3 separate regions of the Homo sapiens genome follow, and all the other regions are linked to region 3. Evidence: promoter capture Hi-C in human tissues and cell types (Jung and others, 2019). All regions are on one chromosome and are shown on one strand. The core of a region is centred on a gene start or on the middle of the fragment in contact, and the rest is flanking DNA. Distances in the headings are between cores, read along the strand shown.

Region 1 (3,349 bases), core at 304-2,803, 180 kb after region 3:
TGTCAGGACCCATTTGTGGCCTCCAGAGACTGCTGGCATCTGTTTGGCTTGCCAGCTATGTGCAGGACCTTCCCCCAGAGGAATCTGCCCCATAGCCATCTGCAGTCTTTGTCTGTTTTATTGGCATTTTATGCCTCAGAGGGTACAAAAAATATGTCTAAATTCAACCCATCTCTGCATTGCTGCAGTACCACCATGTCCACTCATTTCATGGACCCAAGTGATCACTCCAGGTGGCTACACAGGGATATTTGCCCATAGGTGCCAGTCACCTGATTCTAGAAGGGAGTTCTCCTGATGTGCATTGACATATCCTACTTATGCACGCTTCAAATTCCCATAGTGATTTCCATATGCCTGTTTTTTTCCATACAGGCACCCCTTTATTAGGCCAGTTTTATATTACCCTTCTGCCTGACCACATGGCCAGGCCACTGGCCACCACTCATAAGCTGATAAAAACCCAAACAGGCCAGGCATGGTGGCTCACGCCTGTAATCCCAGCACTTGGGGAGGCTGAGGCGGGTGGATCACCTGAGGTCAGGAGTTTGAGACCAGCCTGACCAAAACATGGTGAAACCCTGTCTCACTAAAAATACAAAAAATTAGTTGGGCGTGATGGTGGGCACCTGTAATCCTAGCTACTCGGGAGGCTGAGGCAGGAGAATCACTTGAACCCAGAAGGCAGAGGTTTTGCAGTGAGCCGAGATTGTGCCACTGTACTGCATCCTGGGCAACAAGGGTGAAATCCATCTCAAAAAAAAAAAAAAAAAAAAAAAAGCAACAACAACAACAAAAAACCCAAACATAGCGGCAAACTGCATGCAATTCAGCCAACCTGCTAAGCTGATATGTTTTCACTTTTTTTTTTTTTTTTAAGATGGAGTCTCGCTCTGTCGCCCAGGCTGGAGTGCAGTGGCGCGATCTCTGCTCACTGCAACCTCCGCCTCCCAGGTTCAAGCGATTCTCCTGTCTCAGCCTCCTGAGTAGCTGGGATTACAGGCGCACGCCACCATGCCTGGCTAATTTTTGTATTTTTAGTAGAGATGGGGTTTCACCATTTTGGTCGGGCTAGTCTTGAACCCCTGACCTTGTGATCCACCCACCTCAGCCTCCCAAAGTGCTGGGATTACAAGTGCAGTGGTGCGATCTCAGCTCACTGCAGCCTTCACCCCACTAGTTGAAGCTATTCTCCTGCCTCAGCTTCCCAGCCCAGCTTTTTAAAGAATAAGTCTTGGGCTGGACACATTGGTTCATGCCTATAATCCTAGTGCATGGATTGAGGTGGGAGGATCACTTGAGGCCAGGACTTCAAGAACAGCCTGGACAGTATAGCAAGACCCGATCTCTTAAAAAATAGCTGAGTGTGGTGATACATGCCTATGGTCCTAGGTACTCTGGAGGCCGAGGCTGGAGGACCAAGCCCAGGAGTTTGAGGCTGCAGTAAGCTATGATTGCACCACTGCACTCCAACCTGGGCAACAAAGCGAGACCCAATCTCTTAAAAAAATTTTGTATTTCTTTCTCTAGTGGCACATAGATATCTTATTCTTTTTAATGATGAGTTATTATTCCATTTTATGTATGTACCATCAATTTTTAGCCAGTCTCTTATTGAGTAAATTTAGATTGTTTTCAGTTTTTTGCTGCTATAAACAATATTACAGGGAACACATTTTTTGTACATACATTTGCGTGAGAGCACGAAAAGTATCTATAGGATAAATTCCTAGCAGTGAATTGTTACGCTAAATAATATCTGTGGCCGGGTGCAGTGGCTCACGCTTGTAATCCCAGCACTTTGGGAGGCCGAGGTGGGTGGATCACGAAGTTAGGAGTTCGAAACCAGCCTGGCCAACACAGTGAAACCCGTCTCTACTAAAAATACAAAAATTAGCTGGGCGTGGTGGCAGGTGCCTGTAATCCCAGCTACTCGGGAGGCTGAGGCAGGAGAATCGCTTGAACCCGGGAGGCGGAGGTTGCAGTGAGCCAAGATCGCGCCACTGCACTCCAGCCTGGGTGACAGAGGAAGACTCCATCTCAAAAAAAAAAAAAAGAATCTCTGCTTTTTTAGTTGGAGTAGATATTGTCAAATTAGCCTTGCCAAAGCAACTATACCAATTGAATGTCCTACTAGTAGTTTGAGAGTTTTTCCTCCTACTAACTCCCAATACTGATTATTTTCAAAGTTTTTAATCTTTACCAATCTGATAGTTAAAAACTGGTGTCACATTGTTATTCATTATTGTTTTTCTTTACCTATGAACTGCATATTCATGTCCTTTGTCCTTTTTTTTTTTTTTTGGCTGATTGGTGGGAGAGGTTTGTTTCACTGTATTGCCCAGGCTGGTCTCAAATTCCTGGGCTCAAGCAGTCCTCCCACCTCGACCTCCCAAAGTGCTGGGATTATAGATGTGAGCCACTGTGCCCAGCCCCATTTTTCTTATTGAGCTGTGTATTTTTTTTTTTTTCCTGGTGACTTGCAATAGTTCTTTGAATATTGAGGAATTGACACTGGTTTTTCATGTTGCACGTTTTCAGCTAATTATTGACTTTACATTTATTTTTTAAATTGAGATATAATTCACATACCATAAAATTTACCCCTTTAGGGAGCCAGGCACAGTGGCTCATGCCTATAATCCCAGCACTTTGGGAAGCTGAGGCAGGTGGATTACTGGAGGCCAGGAGTTTGAGGCCAGCTTAGCCAACATGGTGAGACCCTGTCTCTACTAAAAATACAAAAATTAGCCGGGTGTGGTGGCTCATGCCTGTAATCCCAGCTACTGGGTGGCTGAGGCAGGAGAATCACTTGAACCCAGGAGGCGGAGGTTGCAGTGAGCCGAGATTGTGCCACTGCACTCTAGCCTGGCGGCAGAGCAAGACTCTGTCTCAAAAAAAAAAATAAAAATAGAAATAAAATTTACCCCTTTAAAGCATACAATTGAGTAGTTTTTATTACTAGACATTTTACATGAATGGATCCATACAATATGTTGCCTTTTGTGTATGGCTTCTTTCACTTAGCATGTTTACAAGGTTTGTTTCTGTGGTAGAATGTATCAGTACTTTCTTTTTATAACTAAATAATATTTCATTGTGTGGATATACCACATTTTATTTATCCATTCATCAGTGGATGGACATTCGAGTTATTTCTATTTTTTCTTTTTTGGCTGTTATGAATAACTCTGCTCTCTTTAGTCTATTTGGGCTGCTATAACAAAATACCTTAGACTGGGTAATATATAAACGATAGAAATGTATTGCTCACAGTTCTGCAGATTCGAAAGTACAAGCTTAAAGTGCCAGCAGATTCAGTGTCTAGTAAGGGCTCATAGTCTCTGCC
Region 2 (3,290 bases), core at 766-3,265, 160 kb after region 3:
GGTCTGGAACCCTTGGGCTCAGTCCTGCCTCAGCCTCCCAAAGTGCTGGGATTGCAGGCATGAGCCACTGTGCCCAGCTGTTTTTCCATTTTAGAAAATTTATGGATCTGTTTTCTTCAGAGGCCTTATTGTGTATGGTGCATATATGTTTATATTCAGTTTGCTGAATATGTAACCTTTGGTTTCTAGTTTATCTAGCTTTGTCATTTATACTCTCTTGGTTCATTTTATGATGTGTAGTTTGTTCTGGTTATGTATTTGGTAAAACTGTAGACTGCATTTGTCTGGATAATGTGCAACTTGATTTTACTCAGGACACTTGTCTTTGCCAGTTTGAAGTATTTACTGGAGAAAATATGAAAGCATTAGGATAATAGGTTTCAAGTGTATCATTAAACATAAAACTTATTTTTATTTTATTTTTGAGACAGGGTCTGGCTCTGTCGCCCAGGCCAGAATGCAGTGGCACGATCATAGCTCACTGCAGCCTCTATCTCCGGTGGTCAAGTTATGCTCTGACCTTTGGGTACCAAGTAACTAGGACTGGATGTGCACGCCACCATGCCCAGCTAATTTTCTTGATTTTTAGTAGAGACAAGGTCTCACTGTGTTGCCAGGCTGGTCTTGAACTCCGAGCTCAAGTGATTCTCCTACCTCGGCTTCCCAAAGTGTTGAGATTCAGGTGTGAGCCACCACGCCCAGCCAGAACTTACTTCTGAAAAATTTTCTTTTAATTGTGCTCCAAACTAAGACAAGTCACCTTATCTAAAATGTATAGTAGATTAATTTTCCTTGGTGAAAGGCACATATCATTTATTTCTAGTTGTTCCTATAAGTACTACTGTCCTCAGCTTCAATACTTTTTTCTTTTAGAGATAAAAGAGGAGTAGAAGGTAAAAGAAAATGCTGGGAACTGACCGTTGTGTTGTGGAAGAATGGTTATCAGAATTCAAGGTAAATTGGATTGGAGATCAGAATGTATTATATTTTTCTATACATCAGTAATTCAAACTGAATATGTGCTCTATGGAGAAACATTATGTGCTCTATGGAGAAACATAAAAATATGGTAGGAAGTGGAAATGGCAAAATACAAAATAACGTGTTTCTGTAATTGCAGTTCTTAAAAATGGTACTAATATGAATAATGGCTAGAAGGTGATACATAAAGATGAAAATAGTTGTTAGGATTGATGAGACGATATTTTAAAATATATTCAGTAAAAGAGAAGATCCATCAAGCTTTAATAAGGCACAAAAATAGGATTTATGCCTACGTTTTTCTGTCCTATAATTAAAAATCAAATAGTTTTTATGGAAAACTATGTAATTTATGAATACTATGGAATTGTAAATGTTTTGGCAAAACATAAATGCAAGAATTGAAACATCCTACATTTTTTTAAAGATTAGATTAATTTAAGATGGCCCATTTCAGGAAATGTTGGTATAATGTGTGATTTCTAATCAGTATTTATGGTTGAGTAGTTAGAAGAATTGTGTACTATAACATCCTAACTTAATTTGTTTGAACTCTGATGCTTCTTTCTTTCTTTTTTTTTTTGAGATGGAGTCTCGCTCTGTCACCCAGGCTGGAGTGCAGTGGCACGATCTCGGCTCACTGCAACCTCCACCTCCCAGGTTCAAGCAATTCTTCTGCCTCAGCCTCCTGAGTAGCTGGGATTACAGGCACCCGCCACCACGCCTGGCTAATTTTTGGTATTTTTAGTAGAGACAGGTTTCACCATGTTGGCCAGGCTGGTCTTGAACTCCTGACCACAAGTGATACGCTTGCCTTGACCTCCCAAACTGCTGGGATTCCAGACGTGAGCCACTGTGCCCAGCCTATTTCTTTATATTAATTATTTTTACTTTTCTCACTTGAGTTTGTTATAAATCTGTTCAAGAACTATTTGTGTAAAATAAAGTTCCTTGCTTCTCAAATGTTCACTTTTGTTTTCCTTTGGTGGTTTCTTTTAGGCATTACCTGACACTCAGATCACCAGTTATGCAGCAACTTTACACCGGAAAAAAACACTTGTACCAGCCCTCTATAAAGTTATTCAAGATTCAAATAATGAGGTAGGAGACCTCAAGAAAAATAATTTCTACATAGTGAAATGAAATATGTATACCAAAACACATAAATTTAAGTTTTATAATTTTCTTTCCTTGTGGATCTGGAAAATTTTCTTTCTGCTGTTTTTCATTCTGATAGTTGCTTTGGCTTTCCCTATTCCCTGCCTTTCCATATTTTGAAATGTTTTGGTCAAATTTTTTCCTGTTGAGTGTGCAGTATGTTTTGATTGTTAATTTTATTGACCATCATCTCAGTGGATTATTTATTTGAAACTTTTCTGTTTCCTGTTCTGGAATGTTTCCTGCTCTGGAAGCCATATTTTAACTGTATACTGATCCAGCTTTATTTATCTTAAGTATTTTTACAATTATTTTACTGATAATATATAACTAGGTATAATCACTCTAGTCAGTGAAATCAAACTGATAACACAAAATGATGCTGCTAGTAAATTTAGCCTGAAAAGGATCAGAGGAAGCACTTTTTAGTCTAAGTAGTCAAGATCAATAAACTTAGAATGAGAGTTTTGTATTATTTAGCCTTGTGATAGAAGGAAAAAGTACAGTTATTGAATCTGTATATTAATTTATGCAAAATACACACATTATCTTTCCATTAACACAGTAGTATGACATACAGTTTTATCACCACTGGATTCATGTATGCTTAAAATGAAAATGAAAGGAACACACAGGAAAGTAGCTTCTTATCTTCCCAGATACAGCCTCCAAGAGTGCCTCTGCTGTGTACTGGAGTGAGTTTGAAGAAGTTCAGGTAATCCTCTCCTAACCAGCAGCTTAACTTAAAGTGCATCTTCATTTTTGTCCTACCACTAAAAGCTTGCTTATTGACCTCCTTCTTTCCTGTCTCCTAAATTGTGACTGGCTCTCAGTTAGACTTGCATCTGTTGCTATTTGTAGCAGCAATTGCAGGATTCATTTGCTTTTTCTCTTGCAGTGTATTTCTGAATGTTTTATAACTCTGGGTATGCATAATGTACGTATATGCATATCCATATGGTCAAGAGTTTTCAGAATTCTTTGTTTGAATAATGAATGTGTGTATTCCCTACCCCTTGTTTTGCTCTGTCTTAACATTTAAGCTTTGCTTATTAAAATGTATTTGTTTTAATGCTTTCTCTTTAGATTGTAAGCTCTTCATGGGCAGTGGTCAGATATTCTGTATTTGTAACTTCCCGAGAATCTAGTAT
Region 3 (3,484 bases), core at 589-3,088:
GACCTCAGGAGGAAAGGGTGGTTTTAGACAAGAGTTGCTCAAATCAGTGTAGGAAGTTAAAAATTACATGAGTCGGCTGCTCTGTCTATGGAGTAGCCATTCTTTTGTTTCTTTACTTCTCTAATAAACTTGTTTTCACTAAAAAAAAACAAATTACATGAGTCAATGTTTCCATCTGATCAGTTTATAAACTATGCTATTCTCTATACTAAATTTCATCATAATCAGAGGAGCAATGCAGTGATAAAATTTTCATTGTAATACTATTTATTCTATAAGCACTTGAGGTATGTAGTCAATATGCAGAACTTGGCTATTTTTAGAAACAAGAAAATACTTTATAAAGGAAGGAACAGGTGGGGTGTCATGGCTTACGCCTATAATCCCAGCACTTTGGGAGGCCAAGGCGGGTGGATCACTTGAGGCCAGGAGTTCAAGACCAGACTGGGCAACGTGGTAAAACCCCATCTCTACAAAAAATACAAAAATTAGCCAGGCATGGTGGTGCACGCCTGTGGTCCCAACTACTCAGAGGGCTGAAGCAGAAGGATCATTTGAGCCCCGGGGATGGAGGTTCCAGTGAGCCATGATTGTGCCACTGCACTCCACCCTGGGTGACAGAGCAAGACCCTGCCTCAAAAACAAAACAAAACAACAACAAAAAAACCTCCTAGACCTCAGAAGGAAAGGGTGATTTTAGACAAGAGTTGCTCAAATCAGCGAAGGAAGATAAAAATTACATGAGTCAATGTTTCCATCTGACTAGTCTATAAACTATGGTATTCTACATACTAAATTTCATTATAATCAGAGAAGCACTTCAGGAGACTGAGGCAGGTGGATCACTGTGAGGCCAGGAATTCGGGACAAGCCTGGGCAACACGGTGAAACCCCGTCTCTACAAAAAATACAAAAATTAGCTGGGCTTGGTGGTGTATGCCTGTGGTCCCAGCTTCATAGGAAGCTGAGATGGGAGGATTGCTTGAACCTGGGAGGCGGAAGTTGCAGTAAGCCAAGATTGTGCCACTGCACTCCAGCTTGAGTGCTGGAGGGTGAAAGAGGGAGACTCCGTCTCAAATAAATAAATAGATAAATAAATAAATAAATAAATAAATAAATAAAGGAAGGAAGACACAGCAAAAATCAAAACCTCCATAACAAACAGTGGTTATATCGAGGTGACATAACTATAGATAATACAAATTTCCTTCTGGGCTTCCAATTGAATTTCTCAAATTTTATGCATATGTGAGCATACACATTACTTTTGGTGTTAAAAGAAACAAAAAAATGTCATTTTTAATGTGATAATCCAGGGGATCTTCCCTGCTACTAGCCCTGAGGTCAAATGAGTGGTTTATTGGAGACACCTTTCTATTCTACCGCATCTAGCATTTGCCTTGTGGTTTCTTGACAATTCTGATCTCTAGTTTTAGTGAGTCTACCAAACTTTGTCTCTGTGAGCTAACATATTTCTGCCCCGGTAAAAGGCTATGTTGGAGGCTTCCGGATTTTTTAACTTTTGTTTTCCCAGGCATGACAAAGAAATCTAAGAAAAAATAGTGCCATTGCTGACAAGTTTTTGCAAGTTTCTACAACACGAAGCCATGAAGCAAAGGAAAAGATTCAAGCATGAGACTCTGGAGTAAGAAGGGTTGTTAATTACATACCTTCAGATCAAGCTCCACCAATCTTCTGGAAGTAAACGGTTCTCAGGGAAATTGCCTGAAAACAAAGTTTTAAAGAAAGTAGAATCCTCTGTGTGCTCCAAGGTCCAAAGAAGCTCCCATTTGCTTGGGAAGAGACTTCAAGACTTGCTGGTTGTTTAAGTGAAAACTGAATCTTCAGGACTGGGTAGCCTGATACTAGTTTCCTGCTGATGTCATCACTGCTTATCTGCCTTTTTCCCTCCCCTTTTCCAGGGTTAAGATAACTTTGACAAACAGCGTCTCCTAAAGGCTAATTTACAACTTTCTCACTGTAGAGCTTGGGGTTTCCCCAGGTAAAGCAAAAGCTTCCTAGAAACGAACCCGTGGAAGCCACAAAGTGCTTCAGGCTTTCCTTTGGATCTCCATTTCCTTGGTAAGTCAAAAAGGGAAGCATCTGTTTTCCTAACCAACTCCTTCCCCAAACACACTTCACTTTTCAAATAAAGCCAAAAAGCTCATGAAATAGTTGTCGGCCATGTTAACCCTTTCTTATGTCCACATGCAAATAAACAATGGAGCGATCTCCACTTACCGCAACCTCTGCCTCCTGTGTTCAAGTGATTCTCCTGCCTCAACCTCCCGAGTAGCTGGGATTACAAGCATGCGCCACCACGCCCGGCTAATTTTTTGTATTTTTAGTAGAGACGAGGTTTCACCATGTTGGCCAGGCTGGTCTCGAACTCCTGAGCTTGTGATCCACCCTCCTTGGCCTCCCAAAGTGCTGGGATTACAGGCATGGAGCCACCGTGCCCGGCCCACAAATAAAATTTTTAAAAGATAAAAGAAAAGTGGGGATTCACTTTCAGTCTTTGTGGGAGAAATTAAGAAATAAAAAGAAAAAGAAAGGAAAAAAAAAAGAAAAGTGGGGATGGTGAATTACAAGCCCATTTGGAGGTACCTGCAAGAGACTCAACAAATTTGTGGTAGGCAAAACTGACAGTATGTGTTCTCACAGCACATTCAAACCAGCAGGAAAGTGAGACTTTGAAGACATTATTTCTAATCATAAAAACAATACTGCACACTAATATTGCAACTACCATGTGCCAGGGCATTTACAAATATTTACTCATTTCACCATCCCAACAACACTGTAAGATAAATACTATTACTATGACTGCTGCTTTAACATGTGAAAACTAAGGCACAGAAAGGTTAATTAATTTGCCCAAGGTCACACAGTGAGCGGCTGGAAGAGCCAAGATTTAAACCAGCAAGTTTGGATCAAAGTCACTACACTATAATTAAGCTAACTCAAATGTGCAGCACTCTGGAAAGAGGTACAGAGTCTTAGAAAGATGTTTTATCTATGGGGAAAAAAAGCAAGATTTATGATGCTTTGATTAGCAAATGTATTAAAATGTCCTTTCCATGTCCTAGGCATCATTCAGAGAACTTCTGTGCTTAAGAAAGACAAGTCCTGGGGCCAGGTGCAGTGGCTCCCGCCTGTAATCCCAGCACTTTGGGAGGCTGAGGCAGGCGGATCACGAGACCAGCTTGGCCAAGATGGTGAAACGCTGTCTCTACTACAAATACAAAAAATTAGCTGGGCGTGGTGGCACACACCTGTAATCCTAGCTGCTCGGGAGGTTGAGGCAGGATAATCGCTTGAAGGCAGGAGGTGGAGGTTGCGGTGAGCGGATATCACGCCATCACACTCCAGCCTGGGCTACAGAGCAAGACTCCTTCTCAAAAAAAAAAAGAAAAGAAAAAGACAAGTCCTGGCCAGGCACAGTGGCTCACACCTGTAATCCCAGCACTTTGGGAGGCTGAGG

The links. Contacts are between HindIII fragments. The study calls those that stand out against the background at their distance.
Region 1: a contact is called between a fragment that was not itself captured here and the fragment with the promoter of CASP10 in region 3, in 1 of the 25 tissues and cell types used here (IMR-90 fibroblasts).
Region 2: a contact is called between a fragment that was not itself captured here and the fragment with the promoter of CASP10 in region 3, in 4 of the 25 tissues and cell types used here (IMR-90 fibroblasts, aorta, hippocampus and 1 more).

The regions. Positions count from the first base shown.
Region 1 is chr2:201,001,237-201,004,585 of GRCh38, reverse strand. The region is part of intron 7 of HYCC2 (hyccin PI4KA lipid kinase complex subunit 2); the gene reads left to right. All of the region lies in intron 1 of LOC105373835 (a long non-coding RNA gene), which reads right to left. Among named protein-coding and RNA genes, the nearest start is that of ORC2, 39 kb to the right of the region's middle. The HindIII fragment of the contact is 5,990 bases long and covers 1-3,349 here.
Region 2 is chr2:201,021,623-201,024,912 of GRCh38, reverse strand. It overlaps HYCC2 (hyccin PI4KA lipid kinase complex subunit 2), which reads left to right. Exons shown (of 13, transcript NM_001321623.1): 3 at 874-954; 4 at 1,981-2,082. The coding sequence starts at 904. Among named protein-coding and RNA genes, the nearest start is that of HYCC2, 48 kb to the left of the region's middle. RefSeq lists an enhancer at 2,686-2,855. The HindIII fragment of the contact is 5,479 bases long and covers 1-3,290 here.
Region 3 is chr2:201,181,495-201,184,978 of GRCh38, reverse strand. It overlaps CASP10 (caspase 10), which reads right to left and starts at 1,838. Exons shown (of 10, transcript NM_032977.4): 1 at 1,671-1,838. The HindIII fragment of the contact is 16,206 bases long and covers 574-3,484 here.